Regions from separate parts of the Homo sapiens genome. Here regions 2, 3 and 4 are each linked to region 1. Evidence: promoter capture Hi-C in 16 types of primary human blood cells and fetal thymus (Javierre and others, 2016). All regions are on one chromosome and are shown on one strand. The core of a region is centred on a gene start or on the middle of the fragment in contact, and the rest is flanking DNA. Distances in the headings are between cores, read along the strand shown.

What was found. Contacts are between HindIII fragments. The CHiCAGO score rates a contact against its expected background, and 5 or more counts as called.
Region 2: a contact is called between a fragment that was not itself captured here and the fragment with the promoter of COL8A2 in region 1, in 2 of 17 cell types (naive B cells and total B cells). The highest score is 6.0, in naive B cells.
Region 3: a contact is called between a fragment that was not itself captured here and the fragment with the promoter of COL8A2 in region 1, in 1 of 17 cell types (megakaryocytes). The highest score is 5.4, in megakaryocytes.
Region 4: the fragment with the promoter of LSM10 here is called in contact with the fragment with the promoter of COL8A2 in region 1 in 1 of 17 cell types (endothelial precursors); the score reaches 5.0 in endothelial precursors.

The regions. Positions count from the first base shown.
Region 1 is chr1:36,123,520-36,127,586 of GRCh38, forward strand. It overlaps COL8A2 (collagen type VIII alpha 2 chain), which reads right to left and starts at 1,703. Exons shown (of 4, transcript NM_005202.4): 1 at 1,538-1,703. The HindIII fragment of the contact is 11,810 bases long and covers 1-4,067 here.
Region 2 is chr1:36,440,605-36,444,671 of GRCh38, forward strand. All of the region lies in intron 1 of OSCP1 (organic solute carrier partner 1), which reads right to left. LOC107984940 (a long non-coding RNA gene) reads left to right here. Exons shown (of 3, transcript XR_001737976.2): 2 at 3,997-4,067. Among named protein-coding and RNA genes, the nearest start is that of OSCP1, 7.8 kb to the right of the region's middle. The HindIII fragment of the contact is 1,167 bases long and covers 1,713-2,879 here.
Region 3 is chr1:35,846,527-35,850,593 of GRCh38, forward strand. It overlaps AGO4 (argonaute RISC component 4), which reads left to right. Exons shown (of 18, transcript NM_017629.4): 16 at 3,631-3,732. Among named protein-coding and RNA genes, the nearest start is that of AGO1, 35 kb to the right of the region's middle. RefSeq lists a silencer at 2,891-3,043. The HindIII fragment of the contact is 1,671 bases long and covers 1,069-2,739 here.
Region 4 is chr1:36,396,067-36,400,133 of GRCh38, forward strand. It overlaps LSM10 (LSM10, U7 small nuclear RNA associated), which reads right to left and starts at 1,842. Exons shown (of 2, transcript NM_032881.3): 1 at 1,701-1,842. RefSeq lists enhancers at 987-1,699, 1,700-2,411. The HindIII fragment of the contact is 5,014 bases long and covers 1-2,234 here.

The DNA.
Region 1 (4,067 bases), core at 453-2,952:
GAGACCCTGGTGAGTGTGTCTGGGTGTGAGCGTATGTGTGTGTGTGCCGTCCTGTCTGAGTATGTCTGGCTGGGCCACGTGGGGCCTGCCATGTGTCTGTAGGAGTTTGGGTGTGTGTGCATGTGTCCGCCTGTGTCTTGTGGTGGTGTATGTTTCATTAGAGGAGGGTGTCCGCATGAATCTAATGAATGTTTGGGTCGGTGTGTGACTGTGCATGGCTCTCAGAAGGGTGCAAGGCTGTGTGTGGCTGGGTGAGCATGTCTGTGGTTTCTCCTCATTATCATCTAGGGTCATTGTGTGTCCAAGGGTTTGTAGGTGTTCACCAGTCCACTGGGAAGCCAGTGACAGCACCTGTGCCCTGATGGAGACCACCAACCATGGTGTCTCTCCAGAGATCACCAACTCCTGCCCTGCGGCCCCCTCTGCTTGGGGCAGTAAGGATCAGTCGATCTTAGCTCAGTCCCCAGAGAGGAACCCCAGGCTGCCTGACCCTCCAGCCATCCAGCTCCACGGCCCCCAGATTTTTCAAATGCCCAGTACAGCTGCTGGGAGGCTGTCCTTGCCAAGGGGACTCTGCTAAGAGGAGTGGATGAGCCCCTGCTGCCAGCCTGAGCAAGAGGTACTGATAGCAGACAGGAGGGATGATTTCTGGTTGCTCCGGCACCCCTAAGGAGGTCAGCCGCACGTCTGTGTCAGGAACCCAGCATGGTCTCACACAGGCACACACACGTGCGTGCACACATACAACCAGCAAAGTTTTCCCCGTGGCAATAGCGTTCCTGGGCCCTCTGGCTGAATAGCATTTCTCTACCTGGAGGATTTCCGGGGCTAGGGTGGCTCCAGACCCAGGGCAGAGACACTGGGAGGTTGTTCTGGGGCCCTGGGACCCCAGTCCCTCTTGGCCAGGCAGCGGCCCCTCACCCCCTGCAAGTCTCAGTCTGGAGCTGGGGGGATGCTGAGCCCCTGACAGGAACATTCCTGGGAACTTGTCTTCAGTTTGGGGCGAGGGGACTGACAGGGCACCTAGAATAGGAGGAACCTGGGGGCTAAGGCAGAAAAACCTTATAACTGGAAGGTCTCCAGCAAATCAGCAATGGCAGAGAGATGGGGGCAGGAGTGAGAGCGGGGGGATGCTAAGGCCCCTCACTCCCTCCTCTCTCCTCCACTACCCTGTGAAGGCGGCTTTTTTATCCCCACTTTACAGGTGGGACGGGAGATCGGGAGGTGGTGACGCGCCCAGAGCCACATCGTCGGGGGTTGCACCCGGCACTGTCTTATGCTGGAGCCCTCGCTTCTGGGAGAGGAAGGGAGGAGGGGGCTTTACTGGGATCCTGCCGGGGAGGGAACGGGGCACAGGGAACGGGATGGGCTCCCCCATTCTAAGGCGACCCCCTGGCCCGAGTCCCCCACCGCGTCCCCACCCCGGAGTCCGAGGCGCCGGCCCTGCTATCCCGCATGGTGTTGGGGGAAGCCCAGCCCAGGTCTTGCCCTCGGAGCCCCCCAGCCCGAGCCCCGGTGCCCGCCTCCTGGCCTTTACCTGCGGGCGCGGCCGCCGGGCGCCGCTCCCGGCCCTCGAGGGCGGCCCGGGCGGCGAGGGCTCCGGGCAGGGGCGTCCGCGGCTGGGCGGGCGGCGTTGGGGTCCGGGGTCCGCGCCGGCGGGGTTCCGCGTCGCTCTGCCGGCCGCCCCTCGCGGCTGCCGGAGTGGGCGGGCGGCAGGAGGGGCGCGTCGGGGCGGGGCCTCCGCCCTCCTCTTTCCACAGCCACGGCCAAGGCCCGCGCCCCGCCCGGCCCAGCGCGCCCAGCGCGGACTCGGACGGCTGCCTCCCTCCCCGACACCCACGCCGAGCCCCCTCCACACACGCGCTCCCGGGCGGCCCGCCCCCATCCCTCCCCGTCCACCTGACCCGCGGCTCGGCCGCCGGGGAGTCCGCGCAGCCCCTGCCCTCGAGGGGCCACCTGCCTGTGGGGACGGACGCGGCTGCTGAGAAGGACGGCCAGGCGTGGTCCTGCAGGGAAGGGGCAGCTCGGGCTGGTGGCCCCCAGTGAGGAGTCCCCAGAAGGCTGCCTGCAGACGTGACCTCGGTAGGCTGAGCCCGGAGGACTCACAGGGGCCAGTCGTGACCCGCACATTCAGGCTTTAGGGCATTGAGCCGGGGTCACAGAGGCAGGCGGGAGCAGGCCAGACCTCGTCCCTCGGAAATGGGGAGTCACGGAAGGCTCTGGAGCAGGGCAGTCACGTGGTCAGATGTGTGCTTTGGAAAGAGCCTCCCGAAGCTGTGTGGAGGAAGATAGAGGCAGGCCACCGAGGAGGCTGCGGGAATACCCTGGCATGGTCCCATGAGGTGCACAGTGAGGGGGAAGGAAAGGGAGGGCCCAGTGTGAGGGGAGTGAGGAGGCGAACTAGGCAGAGTTTGGGCGAGGGGCCTAGGAAGAAGCAGTGTCAAGGACAGTGCGCAGGCTTTGGGCTAGGCCTGGGGGCGGCAGGGTCTAGGAGAAGAAGGAGGACGGATGTAATGAATTGGATGAGCCTGTGGGACTTCCATGGATCCGGAAGGGAGGTGAGAGTTCTGGGATAGCGAGGAGGAATCCACGGTTTGCAGATGGCGACTGATGCCATAGAATAAGGAGCGGGCCCAGGGAGGCGGGCAGGGCGCGGGCAGGACACTCATCAGCATTCACGGGGCTGCCCAGGGAGAGGGGTCGGCAAAGGAGACTGAGAAGATGGCAGGGACCGGGAGAGCAGTGTCCCAGAAGGCAAAGGCAGAGTGCTTCTAGAAGGCCAGGGAGGCCCACGGGATGGGCTGTCACAGAAGGACATTCTTAGGGACAGCAATTAAGGGTTGGAGGTTGGGGTGGGGGTAGGGGCAGTAGCCAGGCAGCAGGGGAGAAAGGAGGAGGCAGCAAGTGCAGAGGGAAGGGGAGATGAGGTCAGGAAAGGATTTTGGGGTGTGTGTGTGTGTGTGTCTGTGTGCGTGTGTGCATGTAGGTGAGTGTGGGTGTCTGTGTGTGCATGTAGGTGGGTGTGGGCGTGTGTGTGCGTGCATGTGTGTGTGCGCGTGCCTGTGTGTGTACGTGTAGGTGGGTGTGTGTGTGTGTGTGTGCATGTGTGTGTGTGTGCGTGCCTGGGTGTGTGTGTGCATGCGTGTAGGTGGGTGTGGGCATATGTGGAGGTATGTGTGCTTGGGTGTGCAAGTGTGTGTGTGCGCGCATGGGTGGGGGGTCAGCATGTGTGTAGGTGTGTGGAGGGGTGGGGGTGTGTATTTGTGTGCGTGTGGGGAGGTATGTGCGTGGGGGGGTGTGGGGGGTGTGGCTGCATTTGGGTGTGTGGATGTGGCTATGTGGCTTTGTGTGGGTGTGTGTGGCTGTGTGGGTGTATTGTAGCTTTGTGTGTGTGGCTGTGTGGGGGGGTGTGAGTGGGAGTGTGTGTGGGGGGCTGTGTTTGGGGGTATGGGTGTCTGTGTGTGTGGGTGTGTGGGTGCCGCTGTGTGTTTGTGGGTATGGGTGTGTGTGTGGCTGTGTGTGGGGATGGGAGTGTGTGTGTGGCTCTGTGTTTGTGGGTGTGGGTGTGTGTGGCTGTGTGAGTGTGGGTGGGAGTGTGTGTGTGTGTTTGTGTGTCTGTGGGGGGGTGTGGGTGGCTGTGTGTGGGGGTGAGTGTGGCTGTGTGTGTGTGTATTTTCAGTGGGAAAGAGCAGAGCCCTCACCAGGTCCAGGAAAGGAGCAGGGAGGGCCCCAGGCTGTCTCGGGTCAGGGCCCACCCCCCTCAACCTTCCCCCTTCTGCTGCCTGCCCTCTGAGGGCCTCCCACTTTTCTGTCCCCCTGCCAAGGTACACACCAGCCCCGCCACTCCACAACGGGGCCTCTCACCCTCACCTACCGTCAGAGCCTGGCCCACTCCATCCCACCCGTCAGAATTGGGGGCAATTGCCAGGGGTCTTTGGGTCTGGCCTCCTGGCCTGAACTACAGGGGAGCCAGGCTGGGGCACTGCCCAGAGAAGGGAGGGGGCCTGGCTGGCAGGGTGCCTAGGAGGACACCGACTGAGGGGAGATTGCAGAGTTCTGACCCTGAA
Region 2 (4,067 bases), core at 1,046-3,545, 320 kb after region 1:
GCTTGGAGAGACATAGAACTCTGTCAGGTTTGCCTCATGCCTGACCACCTCCATTGCACTGAAACAAGAAAGAACCTGCAATAAACTGGGTTTTCTAACCTTTTTCTTACCATAGCCTACATAAAATGTAGCATTTGCAAGGAAACAGGCACAATTGAAAAGCCACACATAAGTCCTCAAAAGAGAGAATATGAAGAATTTTCCACAGACTTACGTAAGCCAGGGAGGAGGAGTGCCAAAGAAGAATTCAAGTTGAAGCATCACATCAACTCTGGTTAGGTTAATGCTTACAAAGGGCTGCTATTCACCTAGGTGCTGAGTCATTTCTCTGGGGTCTTTGAGCCCTTATTAGGAGCTAGGGAAATAGCTTACACCCAGATAAATCAGTTCTGGACGAAAGAATACCCCAAGGTGATTGTTAGCTACTCGGGCAAAGTGAAAAGCAAAATGAAGTCTTTCCCCGTGGGAAGTGAAGAAGCTCTGGAGCACCATGGCTCCTGGCGCCAGCATCCAGACAGTTCACCTGCTGGGAAGAGGACGGCGGGGTCTGTCCTTGTGGGCAGAGCAGTGAGTACAAATGCCCCCAAAGAGGAAATGGCAGTTTAATGGTTGGGCCACGACACCTAGGGCTCCCTCTTCTCGTTTCACTCTTTGGAAATAAGATGGAGGCACACGTTAACATGTTTTTGTCTTACAATTTGCTTCACCCAGCCCTTGGTTGAGGCAGACCTATTAGGTACCAGACAGTGAAATAAACACCACAGGCACAAAGAGGAAGGAGATGTTATCCTGGCCCTAGAGAAGCAGCACATCATCTTTAGGTTAAACCTGAGAAATAGTTTTTTTAAAAAATTTAATTAGCGTACGGGCGCGGTGGCTCACGCCTGTAATCCCAGCACTTTGGGAGGCCGAGGCGGGCGGATCACGAAGTCAGGAGATCGAGACCATCCTGGCTAACGCTGTGAAACCCCGTCTCCACTAAAAAAAAATACAAAAAATTAGCCGGGCGTGATGGCGGGCGCCTGCAGTCCCAGCTACCGGGAGGCTGAGGCAGGAGAATGGCGTGAACCCGGGAGGCGGAGCTTGCGGTGAACCGAGATCGCGCCACTGAACTCCAGCCTGGGTAACAGAGCGAGACTCCAGCTCAAAAAAAAAAAAAAAAAAAAAAGTAATTTGTTTTTTATTTTTTTCCCTTCATCCTAACATCCCTGAAGAAATAGTTTTAATCAGACCCGCCCATTAGTCTAAGTGTTGGTTTTTGGCATGCAAATGAGTTCTGCATACTTTTCACGAGGCCGGAATATACTAGGAGCCGGATTTCAATAGGAAGAGGCTAAGGGGGGCCGGGCGCAGTGGCTCACGCCTGTAATCCCAGCAGTTTGGGAGGCCGAGGTGGGTGGATCACCTGAGGTCGGGAGTTCAAGACCAGCCTGACCAACATGGAGAAACCCCATCTCTACTAAAAATACAAAATTAGCCAGGCGTGGTGGCTCATGCCTGTAATCTCAGCTACTCAGGAGGCTGAGGCAGGAGAATTGCTTGAACCTGGGAGCGGAGGTTGTAGTGAGCTGGGATCGCTCCATTGCACTCCAGCCTGGGCAACAAGAGCGAAACTCCGTCTCAAAAAAAAAAAAAAGGAGGCTAAGGCAGGGGAGGGAAGGGATTTTTCACAGGAGCCTCAGAAAGTTGGTAATTGGGTTCTCAACATAGCAAGCTTCTAGTCCTGGGTTCAGATTATGAAGCCAGTTTCTGTTCATTATTTTTGAACATTTATGTTAAAATAAATTTCAATGATTCAATTATGTATATGAAAAGCTCTCAAAATCCACACTTCATACCTGAAATTCTGCTATGCATCAAGGGAGGGACGGGTCAAAAATTGCTCAAGAAGTGTCAAACGATGGTTGTGAAATGTAATAAAGTGTACCAAGTACTTCAATTGGGCTTTTTTTCGAGACTGGTCTGATGAAATAATTATCTTGATGAAAGCAATCAAGTTTTTACCAATTACCTCTGCTCTAAATTGACTTGTTTATGGGAATATGAAATTTGGAGCCAAGAATTTAGAGAGAGGCTAGGAAACCCTCCTGAATAGTTACCATGTTTCAATCCTTTCTATGTCCCAGGCACTGGGCTTAGAACTTTATATGCATTATCTCATTTAAACTCCAAGACAACTCTGAATTATTATCCTCATTTTTTTTTCCTGCCAGACCACTTATCGTTTTATATTATCCTCATTCTATTAAGGAGGAAAACTGAATCAGAGAGTTTAAAGTCCAAGGTCACACAGCTGGTGATGGAGCTGAAATTAGAATTAGGTCTGTTTGATTTAATGCCTGTGCTTTTAAATATTATTATTATTATTATTATTTTTGAAGTGGAGTCTCGCTCTGTCGCCCAGGCTGGAGTGCAGTGGCAAGATCTCGGCTCACTGCAACCTCTGCCTCCCAGGTTCAAGTGATTCTCCTGCCTCAGTCTCCCAAGTAGCTGGGATTATAAGTGCCCACCACCATGCCCAGGTAATTTTTGTATTTTTAGTAGAGACAGGGTTTCACCATGTTGGCCAGGCTGGCCTCGAACTCCTGACCTCAAGTGATCCTCCTGCCTCAGATTCCCAAAGTGCTGGGATTACAGGTGTGAGCCACTGCACCTGGCCTCTTAAATATTATACAGGTTGTCTTCCCAGCATACTTGGTGTGGTGAGAGCATTTAAAATATTGAGGAGGATGGCTGATGATAGGCACACACCACACCCAAATGTCAAATGACAGAAGGTATCTGAGATTTATTTAAAGGCTGAGAAAGTCTAAGGCTTTATTCTGAGGAGTCGACAACTTTTTCAGGTTTCCTGCTTGCAGTAGGTAAGGGGAAACTGAAGCTTTTGCATGATGAGGCCACACTGCATGCATGATGTCATGCCTTCTGCCCACAGTCCTGGCAGCCATGCAGTTACATGCTTCAATTTTTCTCGGTTGCTCTGTGAGCTTAGGAGAATGGCTCAGGGAGGGTCACTCATGTTGAAGCACAATTCTTTGGTTACATGACAAAACAAAGTTGTTTTAAGGACTACCAAATAGGATGACATACCCCAAAGTATGGCTATTGCCCCAGCTGTCCCAGCAAAGCTTGGAACTGAGAAAAGGAGACATATCCCTCAAGTACAGTGTGGCTTTTTGGTCAGAGTTTGCTTAGTTTTCATCTTAACATGCTGTATTTCTTCCTCTTAAGTAAAAGATTCAAATGTATAACCAATATCTCAGCTAAAGACAAACTCATGCCTATTTTCTTACTTTGACTTTGAAATGTTTCAAGCGGTCCCATTTTAAGCCCTGCTGATAAAGGCCTGAGTGAACCTGTGGATGCACACTGAACACATGCAGCCCGGAGATAGCATACCTCGTTTTCTGTCCACCTCTGTCCATTCATCTACATGAAGCATACAAAAAGAAAACACCAGTTCATGAAGCAAGAACATTATTTTCAAGGAGGCTTTAAACATACCAATTCCAATGATCTTATCTATGAAACTTTACTTTTCACGTTGGCATTTAATGTCTAATGTGAGCACACTGCCTTCTATTTGAAACCTTTAAAAGGATGATGGATAAACAACATATTTCAAAAAAGCTCAAGAAAGGCTATGTCTTACAGAGACTGGCCTAAGAAGAGAGTAAACTGAGGAGGATTAGCTATCCTGTGGTTCATCTTGAAAGGCCCAAGAAGCCCCGCTCTCTAATGCTACAAGAATACATATCATTCAGTAGTAGGCTTTTAAAGACGCTAGCCTCCATGAGGAAGAATAATTCCAAGAACAGGCAGAGAAAAGAGTTTCTTTGTATACAATCTGAGTTTTCTTTTCTTTTCTTTTTTTTTTATTAATGTAAGATTTCCCTTTCTAGAGGACAGATGGAACTGCTCAAATTAGAAAACTTGAAATGTGAATTAAAAGGAAAATGTCAGCATTTGTTTCTGTTTTACTTTTTATATATATAGATGCATGATTTCCATGTAAAAAGAAGCGAATAATGATGGGACCACTATGAAGAAAGCTTCTGAGGACAAAG
Region 3 (4,067 bases), core at 654-3,153, 280 kb before region 1:
GTGGAGCTTGCAGTGAGCTGAGATGGCACCACTGCACTCCAGCCTGGGAGACAGAGTGAGACTCCATCTCAAAAAAAGATATATATATATATATATATATATATTTAGGGACAGGGTCTAAGTTTGTTCCCCAGTTTGGTCTTCAGCTCCTGGACTCAAGTGGTCCTCCCACCTCAGCCTCCCAAAGTGTTGGCATTACAGGCATAAGCCACCATACCTGGCCCTAGTTTTGACAAATACATACAGTTCTGTAGGCATCACCACAATAAAAATACACAGTCATCCCTCAGAATCCATGGGGGATTGGTTCCAGGACCTGCTGCAGATACCAAAATCCACATATGCTCAAGTCCCTGATATAAAATGGTACAGTAAGCAAGGCGTGGTGGTGCATACCTGTAGTCCCAGCTACTTAGGAAGCTGAGACAGTAGGATCACTTGAGTCCAGGAGTTTGAGACAAGCCTGGGCAACATAGCAAGACTCCATCTCAAAAAACAAAAATGGTATAGTAATTGTATATAACCTATGCACATCCTCCCATATGTTTTAAAACAGGGGTGTCCAATCTTTTGGCTTCCTTGGACCACATTGGAAGAAGAATTTTCTTGGGCCACACATAAAATACACTAACCATAGCTGATGGGCTAAAAAAAAAAATCACAAACAAATCTCATAATGTTTTAAGAAAGTCTACAAATTTGTTTTTGGTCTTTTTTTTTTTTTTGAGACTGAGTCTCGCTCTGTTACCCAGGCTGGAGTGCAATGGCTCAGTCTCGGCTCACTGCAACCTCTGCCTCCTGGGTTCAAGTGATTCTCCTGCCTCAGCCTCCCGAGTAGCTGGGATTACAGGCACATGCCACCATGCCCAGCTAATTTTTGGATTTTTAGTAGAGATGGAGTTTCACCATGTTGGCCAGGCTGGTCTTGAACTCCTGAGCTCAAGTAATCTGCCTGCCTTGGCCTCCCAAAGTGCTGGGATTACAGGCATGAAAGCCACTGCTCCCGGCCCAAGTTTACAAATGTGTACTGGGCCACATTCAAAGCCATCCTGGGCTGCATGTTGGACAAGCTTGCTTTAAAAGATCTCTAGATTACTTATAATACCTAATACAATGTAAAGGCTTAAATAGTTGTTATACTATATTTTAAAATGTGTATAAGTTTTTACTGTTGAATTATTTTAAATATTTTTCTAGGTTGCTTTAGTACCGAATACAGTGTAAATGCTATGTTTTATTGTTTTTAATTTTTTTCATATTAAAATTAAATTTTTAAACATGTTAACAATTTTCTGTATTTGTGTCAGGTCTTTAAAATTTATATTTTTATTTATTTTTAATTGACATAATAATTATACACATTTATGGGTTACATAGGAATTCTTATACAAATAATGTGCAGTGATCAAATCAGGGTATAATTAGAATATCCAAACCTTTTTAAAGAATATCCACAGTTGGTTGAATTCCTGAATGCAGAACCTGTGGATACCAAGGGCTGACTGTATAATAATTCTGTCATACCAAAAAATCTTCAGGTGTCCTTTTGTAGTTAACCTTTCTCCTTCACTCCCAGCCCTTGGCAACCACTGATATGTATTCTGTTCCTACAGTTTTGCTTTTTCCAGCACATCATATAAATAGAATCATAGCCCTTGAGTCTGGCATTTGAGATTCATCCAAGTTGTGTATATATCAGTAATTTGCCCCTTTTTATTGTGAGTGGTATTTCATAATGTGGATGAGCCACAGTTTGCTTATCCATTTCTGAGTTTAGGGGTATTTGGAGTGTTTCCTGTTTTTTACCCAACTTCCCTTTTCAGCTCCTACTTATAAGGCATGGCTCACCTATTTCCTCCTCATCAGCTTTTCCCAATGCTTCCCATATGCCCTTATGACATTGTGTTACAGTTTATTGTATACACTTTTCATGAAGTCAGGAAGGCAAGTTTATTAGTTCTCTTGATGCCCCTGGCTGTCATCCCCAACATCTGCTGCGGAGCCTAGCAGTCATATGGGTGCTCAAGCAATAACTGGTGAATTGAAAAGGCCTGGATTCCCTTTTCTCCAAGGCATCACCTCTTCAGGCTGTCATATGTAGAACCAGAGAGTTTTTTTTTTTTTTAAGGGTAAAATAAATTTAGAAAATGCTATATACTTTATATCCCTTTTAAAGATTATACATGACTAAATAAAGGTTTTGAGTCATACAGTAGAAAAATACTTTTAACTTTAATTTGATCCCATATTTCTCAGGTTTGTTTCACCATAAAATACCTAAACACATCCTGCAAAGCTAATATTCCTAAAGAACACACTTTGGGGAAAAAAAAATGCTAGAACCAACTAGATTTCTTCTGATCCAGCTAGGAACCCAAGATCACATATGCATTTGATGGAAGGAGATTTTTCTATACTCATAGAGTTATGTATGCATAGGTGTATGATCTTCAGCTTAAGGTAACAATAGTTAAAATGGAGCCAAATAAACTCCCATCAAATTTGTGCCTGTATGCTAAAGAAATGTGTTCATACTGAACTCTGCTGTACAGCAGAAGAGGGTGACCAAATAGCAAGATGTAATTCCTTCCCTTGTAATCCATTTCTGAAGTTCCCCTCTTGCCTTCCTAGAAATTTGATTTTCAAATTTTGTCTGTAGAGTTTTTGCTTGGAATTTTAAAAGGGTAAGAGAACATCACCTAATTTTATAGATGATTAGATTGAGGTATAAAGATAATAAGCTTTGTTCAAGGTATATAGTTGCAAGGCTAGGCCTAGATCTGAAACTGATTTTTTAGTTCCCATTTCAGTGCTTTCTTCCTGATAACCATTTGCCAGTGACTTTTTTTTTATTATTAATAAAGTATTTGTTATTGCCAGATGTGGTAGCTCGCACCTGTAGTCCTAGCACTTTGGGAGGCCAAGGTGGGAGAATTGCTTGAGCCCAGGAGTTTGAGTCCAGCCTGGGCAACAAAATTAGACCCCGTGTCTCAAAAAAAAAAAAAAAAAAAAGCCAGACATGATGGCATGTGTGCCTATAGCCCCCGCTACTCAGGAGGCTGAGGTGAAAGGATTCCTTGAGTCCAGGAGTCCAAGGTTGCAGTGAGCTGTGATCCTCCCAGTGCACTCCAGCCTGGGTGACAGAGTGAGACGCTGTCTCAAAAAAAAAAAAAAAAAAAGTACTAGTTATGTTGAACCTGGTAAACCAGTTTAAAGATTCCTTAATCTTTTACTGAAAATTGTGAATTTTTTTTACTCCAAGTAAGGAATAAAACTTTTTTTCTCAGAAAGTTTATCTATCTTAAATGTTAAATGTTTTTTCCCTTTGTGAACATACCACTGTGTCATCTGTAAATACATAATAATGTTGTAGCCCAAAGCCACGGGTAAAATATTTTTGTCCGTATCCTCCTGAAGAGATCCTGGAACATATTTGTTTGTGAAAATACTATAGGTTAAAATGGTTGGGCTAAGGGAAAGTTACAGAGGATTCAACATCTTGAATGAAAGTGATTTTCAAGACTTAAGAGACATTTACCAACTTGCTCCCAATTAACACACAAAAGAAAAAAATGGCCTGACCACAGTTTGGCACTTTGATGACTAATTACTTTTTTTTGTTTTTTGTAGGTAGGGAAAAGTGGCAATGTACCAGCAGGCACTACAGTGGATAGTACCATCACACATCCATCTGAGTTTGACTTTTACCTCTGTAGTCATGCAGGAATTCAGGTAATTTGGAAGCTGGTTCAGATCTTTGACTTGATAGGGAGATGTTTGCAAATTCAGCAACTAGCTTGAGTCGACTTGTTATTTAACACCGTGCCTAACTTTGTTAATGCTTGTATCCTAGAATTATCTTTTGGTCTAGGTATCTGCTTGTAGGTGTGCTAGGCAGAAGTATTTCTGAGTTTAAGGAGTAGGTTTCAATTATTTTCTCTTCTCGTGTCATGTCAGAAATATATTAATCAGGCCAGGCATGGTGGCTCACGCTTGTAATCCAATCACTTTGGGAGGCCGAAATGGGCAGATCACCTGAGGTCAGGAGTTTGAGACCAGCCTGACCA
Region 4 (4,067 bases), core at 592-3,091, 270 kb after region 1:
AAAAAAATTAGCCAGGCGTGGTGGCGGGCGCCTGTAGTCCCAGCTACTCGGGGGGCTGAGGCAGGAGAATGGCGTGAACCTGGGAGACAGAGCTTGCAGTGAGCTGCAAGTGGAGTGCCACTGCACTCCAGCCTGGGCAGCAGAGTGACTCCATCTCAAAAAAAAAAAAAAAAAAAAAAAAAAGAAAGCTCCCCAGATAACTCCAAAGTGCTGAGGGGTACTGGTTAGAAATGCGCAATCTCAGGTCTCTCCCCAAGCCTGTTCTGAGATAAAATCCACTCCTTCACTGAGTGGCTCACTGCCATCTTCCACGCTGGCTGGAAACAGACTGCATTTTAACATGACCCCCTACGTGAATTAGATACACGTTAAGGTTTGAGAATCATTGGTTGACACCAGTAGTTCTCAAACATTAGTGTGTATCAGAATCATCTGAGGGGCTTGTTAACTCAGCTTGCTGGGCCCCACTCCCAGTTTGACTCAGGTCTGAGGTGAGGCCCAGAGATAAAGTCATTTTGAACATGTTCCCAGGTGATGCTGATGCTGCTGGTCAGGGGCCCACACTCTGGGAACTATTGGTCTACACCATGCAGCTGTTATGTAAGTAGAAATTAAGGTAATGAGGCCGGGTGCAAGGGCTCACGCCTGTAATCCCAGGATTTTGGGAGGCCAAGGCGAGTGGATCACCTGAGGTCAGGAGTTCAAGACCCGCCTGGCCAACATGGTGAAACCCAGTATCTACCAAAAATACAAAAATTACCTGGGCATGGGCGCACCTGTAATCTCAGCTACTTGGGAGGCTGAAGCAGGAGAATCGCTTGAACCCAGGAGGCAGAGGTTACAGTGAGCCAAGATTGTGCCACTGCACACCAGCCTGGGTGACACAGCGAGACTCTCAGAAAAAAAAAAAGAAAATAAATCTGGATAATGAATTGGGGAAAAAAACCCCCAACCGGTATTATATAAGGTACATAGGTTTTGAAGGTAGAGAAACCTAGGTTGGAATCCCCACTCCACCCCTAATTATGAAAACCTAGAAAAGTTAATGTCTCTGAACCTGTTTCCACATTTATTAAACTACAGGAGAAACAAAGCTACCAGAATCACACTCCACTAAAGGTACTCTCCTTTGATTTCAACATGCCCTGATAATGTATTAGTGCACTATGTCTTACCTATCCCTTATTTTCAGACCTGAGTTAAAGGGGGTGGAACGCTCTCTCTTTACGACCTCACTCAGCATCCCGTCCAGGGCTGTGCATTGTGGCACTGAGCGTGGCAAGCCAGACTAGGCCAGTGACGAGGGGGCCTGGGAGCTAGGTCCCTGGGCATGGCCTAACGACCAGCCACCCGGCTGCAGCCTGATGAATCTGCGATCAAGCAAAGGTATGGGGCTGCTGCTGCGACTGCAAAGAGCAGTCACCGGACCTCGAGTCAGGCCCGGGTTCTAGAACAGGCTTTGCCACCTCCTAGGAGGGCGATCACTTAGCAAACCACTTAGCTTCTCCAAGCTAGCTAAGCTACCGGTAAAACGGGATGAGCACCGCTTACTCAGAGCAGCGGGAGCGGGTCTGGGGAAAGGAGCTATACTCGGTAAATGGGGAAGAAAACGCTTCCTGGGCTCCGGCACCTCCTTCCGGAGGTCCTGGCATCCCCCGCATTCCGCCCCGGGGCTCCCTGCACCGCCGACCCGGACCCACCACGCGACATTCCTTCCGCTTTCCCCGTCTGGGTCGCCGCCGAAGCTAGCGGGCGCCTGGACTGGCTGCCTCCCGCCGGCTGCAGCAGGACGGAGAAACCATGCCGGCGACCGGGCCGCTCTGTCCTCCGGGCGCAGAGTGCGTCAGTGCTCTGCAAGTCACCGCGTCACGGAGAAACTACAATCCCCAGAATGCTTCGCGGCGCGGGGCTCGTGCTCCGCAAATCCCGGCCTGCGTCATTGGAGTCTCTTTCACTAGAGTCGTTCATTCATTCCGCACGCATTCATTGAACCGGCGACCTGGGCCAGGCTCCTTCCCAGGCTCCGGCATGGAGCAGTGACCAAGATCAAGTGGCTCCCTGAGCTGATGGCGCTGCAGGGGAGAGAGTCTTAAGAAAACAAAGAAGAAAAATAGGGAAAAATTTCTTCAGAAGATTAAAGGTGTGATGTGATGGTGACAAGGTGGTCTTTTATTGGATTGTCAGGGGTGCCCTGAGAAGGTGACATTTGAGTTGAGATTAGTGACATGAAGCCAAGCTTGTGAAAACTATGGGAGGAGCATTGCAATTAGCGGGAACAGTTTGTTAAGTAAAATTTATAGGAGGCAGGGCCGGGTGCAGAGGCCCACACCTGTAATCCCAGCACTTTGGAGGACAAGGCGGAAGGATCACTGGAGCCCAGGAGTTCGAGACCAGTCTGGGCAACAATGGGGAGACCCTGTCTCTACAAAAAATAGAAAAAATTAGCCCACCGTGGTGGCGTACACCTCTGGTCCCACCTACTTGGGAGGCTGAGGCAGGAGAATTGCTTGAATCCAGGAAGTGGAGGCTGCAGTGAGCTCAGAAAGTAACACTTCATTCCAGCCTGGGCAACAGAGCAAGACTCCGTCTCAAAAAAAAAAAAAAATTGGAGGCCATTGGTTTGAACAGGGCTCCTGCACCAAGCCCAACAGAACCAAAATGGAGTCACTCATGCTAAAGTTCTACATCACCAAGTGGAAACTAAGTTGTTTATCTGATATTCCGATAAATCAGAAGAGTGAGAGATAGCTAGATCTCCAAACCATCCTGTTTTAGCTGGCAGGATAAGGAAGTCCCCTCTGCTTTAGCCTTCAAAGTTACAAGGAAAGTAACTTTGAAACAACCAATCTTTTTGTTTTCTGTTTCTGCTTTCCTCAGCCCTTTTCTGGCTGTAAAACCAATCTCCTCTGCTCAGCTCATTTGAACACTCATTCCATTTTATAGAATGAAGTGTTGCCCGATTCTAGAGTTGCAAATAAAAGTCAGATTTAACAAATTTGGCAAAAAAAAGTCAAATCACCAATTAAAAGTTAAATTTTTTCTTTTCACAGTTCATGCAAAGAACCTGGGGGAAATGACCTTGACAATTTAGGAACACAGGAAAGGCCAGGGAAGCTGGGGAGAGTGGTATAACAAGAGGCCAGAGAGGAAGCAGGAACCAGAGCATATAGGGCTTTGTGAGCCAAGGTAAGGAGTTTAGATTTCATGGTTAGGAGTGCAGCCTCCGGATACAGTGCCTAGGTTCAAATCTACTCCTGGCTAATTGTGACTTTGGGCAAGTTAGTATCTTCTCTGTGCCTCAGTCTTCTCATCTAGTACTAGAAGTGCTATGACAGGCTATTGAAAGGGAGCGAAGTGATTTGATTTACTTGTAGAGACAGGTTCTCACCCTGTCATCCAGGCTGGAGTGCAGTGGTGTGATCATAGCTCACTGCAGCCTCAACTACCTGGGCTCAAGTGATCCTCCTACCCAAGCCTCAAGAATAGCTGGGACTACAGGCACACGCCACTGTGCCCCACCTGATTTACATTTTTTAAAAGTCACTCTGTATAGCCTTGGAAAAATTACTTTCTTCCTCAGCCTCAATTTGCTTGTTATGAAAACAAAAAATTAGGCCTTTCTCAGAGAACTGTAAGATTTAAGTGACCTTCATTAATGTGTGAAAGCATCTGGCACAGAGAAGAAGCTCAGTAAATTAGGCTTCTTGGCTGGGGGTGGTGGCTCACACCTGTAATCCCAACACTTTGGGAGGCCAAGGCAAGAGGACTGTTTAAGCTCAGGAGTTTGAGACCAGCCTGGGCAACATAGTGAGACCCCATCTCTAAATTTTTTTTTGTTTTTGAGATGGAGTTTCACTCTTGTTGCCCAGGCTGGAGTGCAATGGCCTGATCTCGGCTTACAACCTCCGCCTCCCGGGTTGAAGCAATTCTCCTGCCTCAGCCTCCCAAGTAGCTGGGATTACAGGTGTGCACCACCACACCCGGCTAATTTTTGTATTTTTAGTAGTGACGGGGTTTCTCCATGTCGGTCAGGCTGGTGTCGAACTCCCTACCTCAGGTGATCTGCC